Regions from separate parts of the Homo sapiens genome. Here region 2 is linked to region 1. The links are contacts of gene promoters, found by promoter capture Hi-C in human tissues and cell types (Jung and others, 2019). All regions are on one chromosome and are shown on one strand. The core of a region is centred on a gene start or on the middle of the fragment in contact, and the rest is flanking DNA. Distances in the headings are between cores, read along the strand shown.

Region 1 (4,716 bases), core at 2,217-4,716:
CCTGGCCCCCTTTCCTAGCTCCTCCTACTTTCTCCTTTCTAGACATTTCCCTCCTCAGTCCTGAGTTCAGCCCATACCTCAACCCGATGTACATTAGAGACCCAGCCCCCTCCTCCTTCCAGGCCTCTCCTTCCCCCTCCCTACCCTTCTGGTACACAAGAGGTGTCCAGTGTGCCCTTGGCCACTCACAGATGTAGTAGTAAGTCTCTCCAGGTAAGAACTCAAAGCCGAGGGAGAAGGGTGTGAAGCGCTGAATCTTCTCTGAGAATTGAACATGGCCAAAGGGCAGGGAGCACACCCAGCGCTTGTAGGCCCGGGGGCCCTCTGCCTGGCAGGACTCATAGCCTGGCCAGTCCACCATGTACAAAGCAAACGTCTCGGGGCCCTCAGGGGGCCCTGGGCCTTCGTAGTGGGGGCAGACAATGTCTAGGTAATCGTTGAGGCCCAGCTCCACCACGGCGTCTCCTCGAAGCAACCTGCAGGCATAACGCAGGGGTGGGCTGAGGAGTGGAGGGCACCACGCCATGGCCATGGATGCCAGAGACACCCCTTCTCAGAGGCCCCTGCCAGCCTCTCCTCCACCCATGTGCGATGGAGCAGCTCAGGAAGGCCCGAGGTTCCCAGACTGACAACTCTTGAGAGACAAAGAGAGTGCAAGAAATGGATGAGATGATCGATTCACAGGTTCCGAGAGGCTAAGACCTGCAGTGCCCATAACCACACAGCTTAGATGTGAGAAGGAGGGTCACCACACCCTGTCCTACAGGCTGGAGCTGCCACACACCTCTCTAGCTCCAGTGCCCAACACTCAATGTGGTATAGCACCAGGCTTGATCAATGTCAGGTGGATGGATGCTGTGAAGAAGCTGGGCAGAGAGGCAGGAGGTACAGTTGCACACAGTGCAGCTGCAGACACAGAGGTGGAAACAGGGGTTGGGAAAGGTCTCCTCAAACAGATATAAAGTGAGGAACACTGTCCTTTAGACTGACTTCAACCCAAGGGTGAAAAGAATGTCACGGTAAAAAAAGAATGAGGGAGGCCAGGTGTGGTGGCTCACATCTGAATCCCAGCACTTTGGGAGGCCGAGGTGGGAGGATCGCTTGAGGCCAGGAGTTCAAGACCAGCCTGGGCAACATGGTGAGACTGTCTCTACCATAAATAAATAAATAGGCTGGGCGCGGTGGCTCACGCTTGTAATCCCAGCACTTTGGGAGGCTGAGGCGGGCGGATCATGAGGTCAGGAGATCAAGACCATCCTGGCTAACACGGTGAAACCCCGTCTCTACTAAGAATATAAAAAGAAAACTAGCCGGGCGTGGTGGCGGGCACCTGTAGTCCCAGCTACTTGGGAGGTTGAGGCAGGAGAATGGCGTGAACCCGGGAGGCGGAGCTTGCAGTGAGCCGAGATTGCGCCACTGCACTCCAGCCTGGGAGACAGAGCGAGACTCCATCTCAAAAAATAAATAAATAAATAAATAAATAAATAAATAAATAAATAAATAAAGGCCATGAGTGGTGGTGCACTCCTGTAGTCCCAGCTACTTGGGAGGCTGAGGCGGGAGGATCCTTAGAGTCCGCAAGTTCCTGTAGTGAGCTATTATGCCACCGCACTACAGCCTGGGTGACAGAGCAAGACCCTGTCTCTAAATTCTAAAAATTAAAAAAAAAAAAAAAAAAAGAATGAGGGAGTGGGTGCTAGGTGCCTCCCTTTTTTGGCCAGGAGGAGCAAGTGCCAGGCATGGGGGGAGTCCACATACTACCCAGTCTTCAGTCTTCTCAGGACTCCCTTCCCCACCTCTTGGGAGCTGCCTGGGGAAGCCAGCACAGGTGGGAAGGGCTGGAAGGGGCTGCTCCCCACAGTACTGAATGCTGCATGAACCACCCCCCATACCACAAACACAGCGAAGCATGACTTAGGAAAAGCCTCCAGTGGGTGGTCCAAGGACGACCTGTATCAGTTCTGATTAGAAATGAAGATTCCTGGGCTCAGCCAGCCCAGACTTACTAGAACGCAAGCTGAGCAAGGACAGGGCCTTGGTAAGTTTTGTTCTACTGCATCCCCCGTGCCTGGAAAAGTGCCCAGCACAGGACAGTGTTCAATAAATATTTGTGGATTGAATGAATGAGCCAGAAACCTTAAGATTGGGGGGTGAGAAACCTGAATTTTTAACAGGTCCTCCAAGTGATTCAGAAGCTTTGGTCTGTGACAGAGATAGAGAATTCAGAGTCCAAGGACAACAAAAGCTCTTATCACTTGTTATTGGTATTGTAATGACCTGTCTTTATGCAGGCTCTCCTGCCTGCGCCTGTTCTCCAGAGAGTCTGTGGAATCCCAGAGGGCAGGGTCTTGATCTTCTCATCTATATAGTTAATCCCCTGCAACCTAGCACAGGGCCGGGCACACACAGTATGTGTTTAATAAATAAATGTTAGTGAGTGAAGAAATGAATAGTCACAGATTGTCTCAAGTAGAAAATCAGAAAGAAAAACAGATAGGAAATAGGAGAGGCAGGGAGACTTGGGGAGGGGGATGGAAACAGTAAAATATACTAAGGTTCAAAGGCAGGCAGCTCAGGAGAGAGAAAGAAATAATAGTTTATATCTGTACAGCCTGAGCCTCTTTCACATACATGACCTCACTTACCCTGCCAGACTTCCCAGGGTACTAGGTATTATTAGCCCATTATACAGGTGAGATAAATGAGGTTAGGAAGGTCACGAGACTTGCCCAGAGGTGATTCGGCTAGAAGGGCAGGGCTGACACTGGAAAGAAACAGAAGGACCAATAAAGACAGAGATGAAAGCAGAGATAGCAAATGAGATCAGGAGACAGAGTGAGAGCCAGAGGTGAGACCCAGCGGGCAGGAGAGTAACCCACGCTCTTTCATAAGAGTAAAGCCCCCTCCCTCGCTCTCAAGTTCGTCAGCCACAGCTCCAGCCTGCGGGAGGCTGGGGATCGCCAGGAGAGCAGCGAGGGGGGCGGAGCCCGGAGTGCGGGCAAAGGCCCCCCCAGCTCCATGCTCCAAGACCCCCTAGACAACCCTTGGGGCTGGGGTCTTCTGCCTGCCCCCCAACACATGCGGGCTGTGGGGAGACCCAGGGCGCGCCTCGCCCCTCGCCCCTCCCCCCTCCCCCGCCGGCTCAAACAAAGGAGCCCCGGCGCGCGGCCAGGCTCAGGCGGCGCCGCGCAAAGAGCGGGTGGCGGGCGCGCGCAAAGCCCGGGAGCGCGCAGACTTGGCTGTGCGCTCGCCCGGTTCGGCCCGGCTACCTGGGGTTACTGGAGTTCCAGTAGACTACGTGGCGGAGGCTGGAGCCCCCGCGCAGAGGGGAGCCGAGGAACGCGGCCCAGAGGACAGTCCGCAGCAGGGGCAGCAGCCGCATCGCCCCCGAGGTCCGGTTTGGTCTGGCCTGGCAGGTCCCGGCCCGCTTCACAGTCGAGGAGAGAAAGGTACAAAGTGAAGAGGGAAGTTGCGGAAAGGGGAGTGGGGTACGGAGATTCACTGACCCCGCCCCTGAATAACTTTCCGCCAATGGGAGCGCGTCTCCTCCTCTCCACCCAGCGCCAACTCCAGTTAACCCTCTGTGCACCGCAGCGCGCGCCAGGTTCGCCAAAGCTTCCACTGAGGCTGCACCGCACTGCGAGGGGGCGGGAAGGAAGGACGTATTCCAACAGCAGTATTTTTAGGGAGGTCATCTCTTTCGTGTCTGCTTTAGTGCAGGGTAGACTGCCTTATTAGAAGTTTGGAAGATTTTAAATAAGGGTACATAACCTTTGCCCAGATAGGGGAAAGTGAGGCGCGGGCGAGGATCCATGAAGCCTGTCCAACCACCTTCATGCACTGCCCCGTTTTCTTTGCACATCTAGGGACAGTGCAAGCGGAAGGGACAACACAGCTCTGGGACCACCTTCCCTAAAGAGCCTTAGGTGGCGCGCTAGATGCTCACTTTAGGATTGGCGTCTGTCCCTTGCCGCTCCACACCTTCGTTCCGGGCTGGGGGCCCACGCGGCCCCAGTCCCTAAGACGAAGTAATGAGGTGGTTGCGGCCTGTACAAAGCACCTTTGTTCCCGATCCCTCAGGTGGCGGCGGCGGAGGGGGAGGAGGCAGGTGCGCGGCCTTGGGATCGTGGGAGCAGCCGCCGCCCCGCTCCGCCCTGGCTCCTGGGCTCTGGGAGCATCAGCCAGATCCACTTTTCCCAGCCAATGGTCAGAGTGGGGACGGCAGGTCCAACAGCTTGACAGATTGCGCCGAAAGCCACCCCAGTCTGGGCAGAGGGAAGCTGCGAGCATCCCGGGGACACACGCCGACCCTTTCTGGTACTCCCGCCCCACACAGCCCGCCCTCGTCTGAGGCGGCAGCGTCTTCTGGCGGCCAAACCTGGAACCGCAGCAGGAGCGACCCGGGTTCTAGAAGCAGACAAACTCTGGGGAACGCTCCCAAGATGTCACGTTTATTGCAACTGAGCAGAGACAGGCTGTGCGGACCTTCCTCAATCCCGTCCAACCCCCAGCCCCTCCCCAAGCCCCCGCTGCAACTACGCCGGCAGGTCCGCAGAGTGTTGCTTGACAGCGCGTGGCGGTGCCCGGAGTCTTAAGACACCGCCAGTCTCTGGCGCCTTCAGTCATGGTAGGGGACTCCAGAGGGCACGCCCGCCTCTTGAAGCCCTAAGTCCGGCTTGGAGGCAGCGGAACCTCCGGAGAGGTCAGAGGTAGAGC
Region 2 (4,580 bases), core at 529-3,028, 800 kb before region 1:
TCAGCCTCCTGAGGAACTAGGACTACAGGCATGTGCCATCATGCCTGGTTAATTTTTTTTTTTTTTGAGATGGAGTCTTGCTTTGCCCAGACTTGAGTGCAATGGCGCGATCTCGGCTCACTGCAACCTCTGCCTCCCTGGTTCAAGTGATTCTCCTGCCTCAGCTTCCTGAGTAGCTGGGATTACCAGCACATGCCACTACACCTGGCCAGTTTTTGTATTTTTAGTAGAGACGGGGTTTCACCATATTGGCCACGCTGGTCTCGAACTCCTGACCTCAAGTGATCTGCCAGCCTTGGCCCCCCAAAGTGCTAGGATTACAGGCATGAGCCACCATGCCCAGCTAATTTTTAAATTTTTTTTAGAGATGAGTCTTCACTATATTGCCCAGGTGGTCTTGAACTCCTGGGCTCAAGCAATTCTGCTTTAGTCTCCACCAAATTGCTGGGATTACAGGTGCAAGCCACCATGCCTAACCAAGGAAGAGTTACATTTTATTTAAAATATATATTTATTGTTATTATTTTTTTAGAGACGTGGTCTCACTCTGTGGCCCAGGCTGGAGTGCAGTGGTGCAATCACAGCTCACTGCAGCCTTGAACTCCTGGGCTCAAGCAATCTTACTACCCTAGACTCCTGAATAGCTGGGACTACAGGACCATGCCACTATGCCTGGCTAATTAAAAAAAATTTTTTTTAGAGACAAGGTGCTATGTTGCCCAGTCTGGTTTTGAATTCCTGGCCTCAAGATCCTCTTGCCTCAGTCTCTTGAGTCGCTGGAATTATAAGCACGACCCACTGTACCCGGGTACATTTTAAAATAATATAGATAAGGAGCAAAACATTATTAACAAAATAAATCAAGGTGACCATGTCTATATCCATACCGAATAATAATAGTGTTTAGTCTCAAAGTATTAAATGAAATAGCTTTTAGGGAAAGTTTTCACAAAATGGAGACAGCCTTGGTAGTAAGCTACTTGAAGGCAGGCAGGAACAATATCCTATGGATCTTTGAATCCCTCAAGAGTCTCTTGCTTCTAATAGGAGTTCAGTAAATATTTGGTTGAACAACTAATTGGATTCAGTTGCCATTAAGAATGGGCACAGCCTAAGGAAGTGGCTCTCCATTCATCAATCAGGTGCTTTCCTGCAAATTGTTTGCTACTCATTAGTGAAACTGAACACTGTCTCTATGAGAAGAGGAACACAGCAAACTACCAAGACAGGCATATTTTTTGGAATGATCATAAAGAGAGATCTGAAGGCTTAGATTAGGAGACACCTGGGCAATTCTTTTGGCTCTATCATAGATTTATTCCCTGCAGCAGTGCGGTGGAGGAGCGGGGGGCAACCCACTGCTGCTTACATATTTACAATGCATCAACTTTTATTGTTAGAAAATGGAGATAGGGTAGAAAAGAGAGAAGATGAAGAATTCTCATATTCCAGGAGGATAGAGAAGGAAAAGAAGAGAAACAGATGAACGCATCTTTGAATTATCTAGTTGTTCCCCCTGGCCTTGTTTCCTATTTTTGCTGTTCTTTCTTCATTTTAGTATTTGTTAACTCTTGCCTCTCTCCCTGAAACCAAGACAATGAGCTAGAATCATCAAAGATATTAAAACCTAGAGCTCTCTGTCTTGCTTTAGTCCAAAGCTTGGTGGGAAATGGAAGTTGAAACTAATGGCTGAAGTGAGTGTTTTAAAGTAGCTATAAATTGCAGTGACCTGTGCTTCTCGCTCCTTTTGTCCTTCATGGTCATGGATAATTGAGTGTTGGCTTGGTGTATCACCCAAGTGCTGTGGCATTTGAAATGAAGTACTCTATGAGATGTGAAAAAGTTGGAAGTGGTAGTTCTCTATGTAGGAGATCCTCTGTAATGGTTTAAAGACCTGCAAGACACATCTGGGCTATTGGCCAGCTCCTTCAGCTTCTGACCAGAACTGCTTTTATTGACACCCCCTTTCCTAAACATAGCTTTTCGCAGTCAAGTAGACAAATATAATACAATGGAATGAGAATAAATTTTGGCTTCAGCCAGACATTGGTTTAAATCCTAGCATTGGCCAGGTGCAGTGGCTCACACCTGTAATCCCAGGACTTTGGGAGGCCAAGGTAGGCAGATCACCTGAGGTCGGGAGTTCAAGACCAGCCTGACCAACATGGAGAAACCCCATCTCTACTAAAAATACAAAATTAGCTGGGTGTGGTGGCACTTGTCTGTAATCCCAGCTACTTGGGAGGCTGAGGCAGGATAATCGCTTGAACCCAGGAGGCAGAGGTTGTGGTGGGCCAAGATCACGCCATTGCACTCCAACCTGGGCAACAAGATCGAAACTCCGTCTCAAAAACAAAAACAAAAACAAACTAGTGCTACCTTTAGTCATTTGTTTGGCTTTAGCCAAGTTATTTTATTTCTGAGCTTTGGTTTCCTTGTCTGGCAAGTATATATAATAATACATACACTCGAGGGTATTTGTTAGGATTAAATAAAATGTAGTATGTAACAGGCTGATATAATTTATTTTCCCTTTCCCAATAATAGTCCCTCTAAGAGAAATCACTATATTATGTTCCACACCATCTCCTTTTTTCAAGGATTCTGGAACTGCAGTTAGAGAAAGGAATCTGTTGGAAGGGAATAAGAAGAAAAAGAACAGGAAGAAATCATGGATTGCTCATGTGATCATGAAAGGGACTTTTGTTTTGGAAACTTAGAACTCAAAGAATAAAGATGCGGAAGGTGAAGTGGAAGAAAAAATACCATCAAGATTTAGCCTTGTGGAATAAGTGAGAACAAGTAGTTAATGAGTGTGAAGATCAGTTATCTGAACACATCTGATTTGATTTCTTCTTCCTTATTCTGAGGGGATAGAGCACACTGGATTCTGCTCATTTCACTGTACCTCTTATTCAGGAATGAGAAAAGCCATTTCCTAGCTGGATTGTGTCTCCACCCTAAAAACTGGAGTCCCGATGCTCAAACCTACTGGATTGTCTGAGGGATAGAATCCCTGAAGGAATAAGAAGGTTCTTTGGCAGCAACTCTCACTGGCTTCCCCCATCTAAACTGAATCAAGGAGAAGCAGGGCAATTATATTTTATTTATTTGATCAGGAAAGCATAACACAGGAAGTTTGCTCCTTTAGCATATACTGCAGGAGTCCCCAAAGAGGAAAAAACTTCCTTCTCAAGCTTGTCTTTGCCACCTTCTTCCCTATTTTCCACTCCACTTTCTGCTCCAGAGAGTGTAAAACTAATCTTGGAGCCCACAGGGCTGGGTCGGGGACCAGCCGCTCTGAAATGACGTAATGCTTTCTGCGGTACACAAAGCGGCCTCCCCCGGGCTGGGCCTCTTTCGCCCCTCCCCCTCCGGCCTGGATCGCGCCCCCGCCAGCATCAACGCTGGTCAGTCCCCCTTTTTGAAAAGGCGGCCCAGGGAAACAGGGAACAAAGGCCCCGGAAGGAGAGCGTCGGCGCTGCCAGGAGGCCCAGAAATAGACATCACGTCATCCCCCAGCCCAGCAGCGCCAAGCGCCATTTGGTAGCATCGGAGGGACCCCACCATTACGATGCGGAATGGAGCTTGCAGGGCTCACGTTTCCTCCTAGCCCCAGCATCCAGCTGACCGGCTTAAGGAGTGGCTTCCTTTTTGCTCCCCACCCCGCACCCCTCTTTCCCCAGAGGCCGCCGCCTCCCCTGGCTGCCAGCCACACGGCCCACAGTCTCCAAGCTGCCATCTTGATGCCCCATCCCCCTTGTCACTTCCCTCCCCCGCAGCCCTTAGGAATGGGAGGGGGAGGAAGGGGCACCGCCCTGTGTGCCCCAAGGGGGAGGGCTTGGCCTACCCCACCTCTCCTCCCCCAGAAGGAGGGGTTCACATCCTCCGCACGCTTGCTGTTTCTCACCTCCAGCAGTGCTGACAGTGCACCATACAAGGTTTTAGCATCCTGGACTTCCCCACCCTCGGTGTGGCTCAGGCCCTGCCAGTCCCTGCAGCCCATAGCTCAAGTTCATGCACTGTCAACTGCCCACTACCCACTACCCACCACCACAGGCCCGATTTTAGTGGGGCTGGCATTTTGAAGGCTCTGGTCTGGGCTGCATTCTCTGCCCTGCCGCTGGGCCCCCTTGGCCTTGCAACCATTCTGACCACCTCAAGCTTAGTTTTCCCGAGTCTACTTACCAAAGCTAGGTCGGATATTGGTGATCTCAGCCATGTCGTAATCAGAGGCTGTTGCTATAACGTTTTTGCAATGGTGAGACAGCTCTGGGAACCCTCGGTCAGTACCGAGGCAGCAGCTGTAGAGCTCTAGGTCAGGGAAGGGGGAAGGTATCCAGCGGACGCCTCCTGCGACGGTCCGGCCCCTAGTTGTCAGCTGCGCTCAGCTCTTAAGATGCTCCGGGGATGCGCTGAGCTAAGGATGCAGGTGCAGTCAGACTGGTCCTGATGAGAGGTAGGCTCCGCCTTCTTCCGAATGGTCCTCGGAAGAAGACTCCGCCTCTTCCGAATGGTCCTCGGAAGAAGACTCCGCCTCTTCCGAAAGATTACGGAAGTCAGCCCTCGCCCCCTTCAGG

What was found. The method cuts DNA at HindIII sites, captures the fragments that hold promoters and counts their contacts. A contact is called where the count stands out against the background at its distance.
Region 2: a contact is called between a fragment that was not itself captured here and the fragment with the promoter of EFNA4 in region 1, in 2 of the 25 tissues and cell types used here (bladder and heart right ventricle).

Annotation. Positions count from the first base shown.
Region 1 is chr1:155,062,490-155,067,205 of GRCh38, reverse strand. It overlaps EFNA4 (ephrin A4), which reads right to left and starts at 3,466. Exons shown (of 4, transcript NM_005227.3): 1 at 3,270-3,466; 2 at 190-476. The coding sequence starts at 3,382. ADAM15 (ADAM metallopeptidase domain 15) reads right to left here. Exons shown (of 23, transcript NM_207197.3): 23 at 4,431-4,716. The coding sequence ends at 4,704. It overlaps EFNA4-EFNA3 (EFNA4-EFNA3 readthrough), which reads right to left and starts at 3,466. Exons shown (of 5, transcript NM_001407761.1): 1 at 3,270-3,466. The coding sequence starts at 3,382. DCST1-AS1 (DCST1 antisense RNA 1) reads left to right here and starts at 3,215. Exons shown (of 4, transcript NR_040773.1): 1 at 3,215-3,449. It also overlaps ADAM15-EFNA4. RefSeq lists an enhancer at 2,014-2,515 and silencers at 3,006-3,155, 3,446-3,595, 3,976-4,065. The HindIII fragment of the contact is 5,150 bases long and covers 928-4,716 here.
Region 2 is chr1:155,859,404-155,863,983 of GRCh38, reverse strand. SYT11 (synaptotagmin 11) reads right to left here and starts at 4,417. Exons shown (of 4, transcript NM_152280.5): 1 at 4,189-4,417. The coding sequence starts at 4,222. It also overlaps a transcript of GON4L not described here. RefSeq lists enhancers at 4,177-4,276, 4,467-4,576. The HindIII fragment of the contact is 3,807 bases long and covers 1-3,681 here.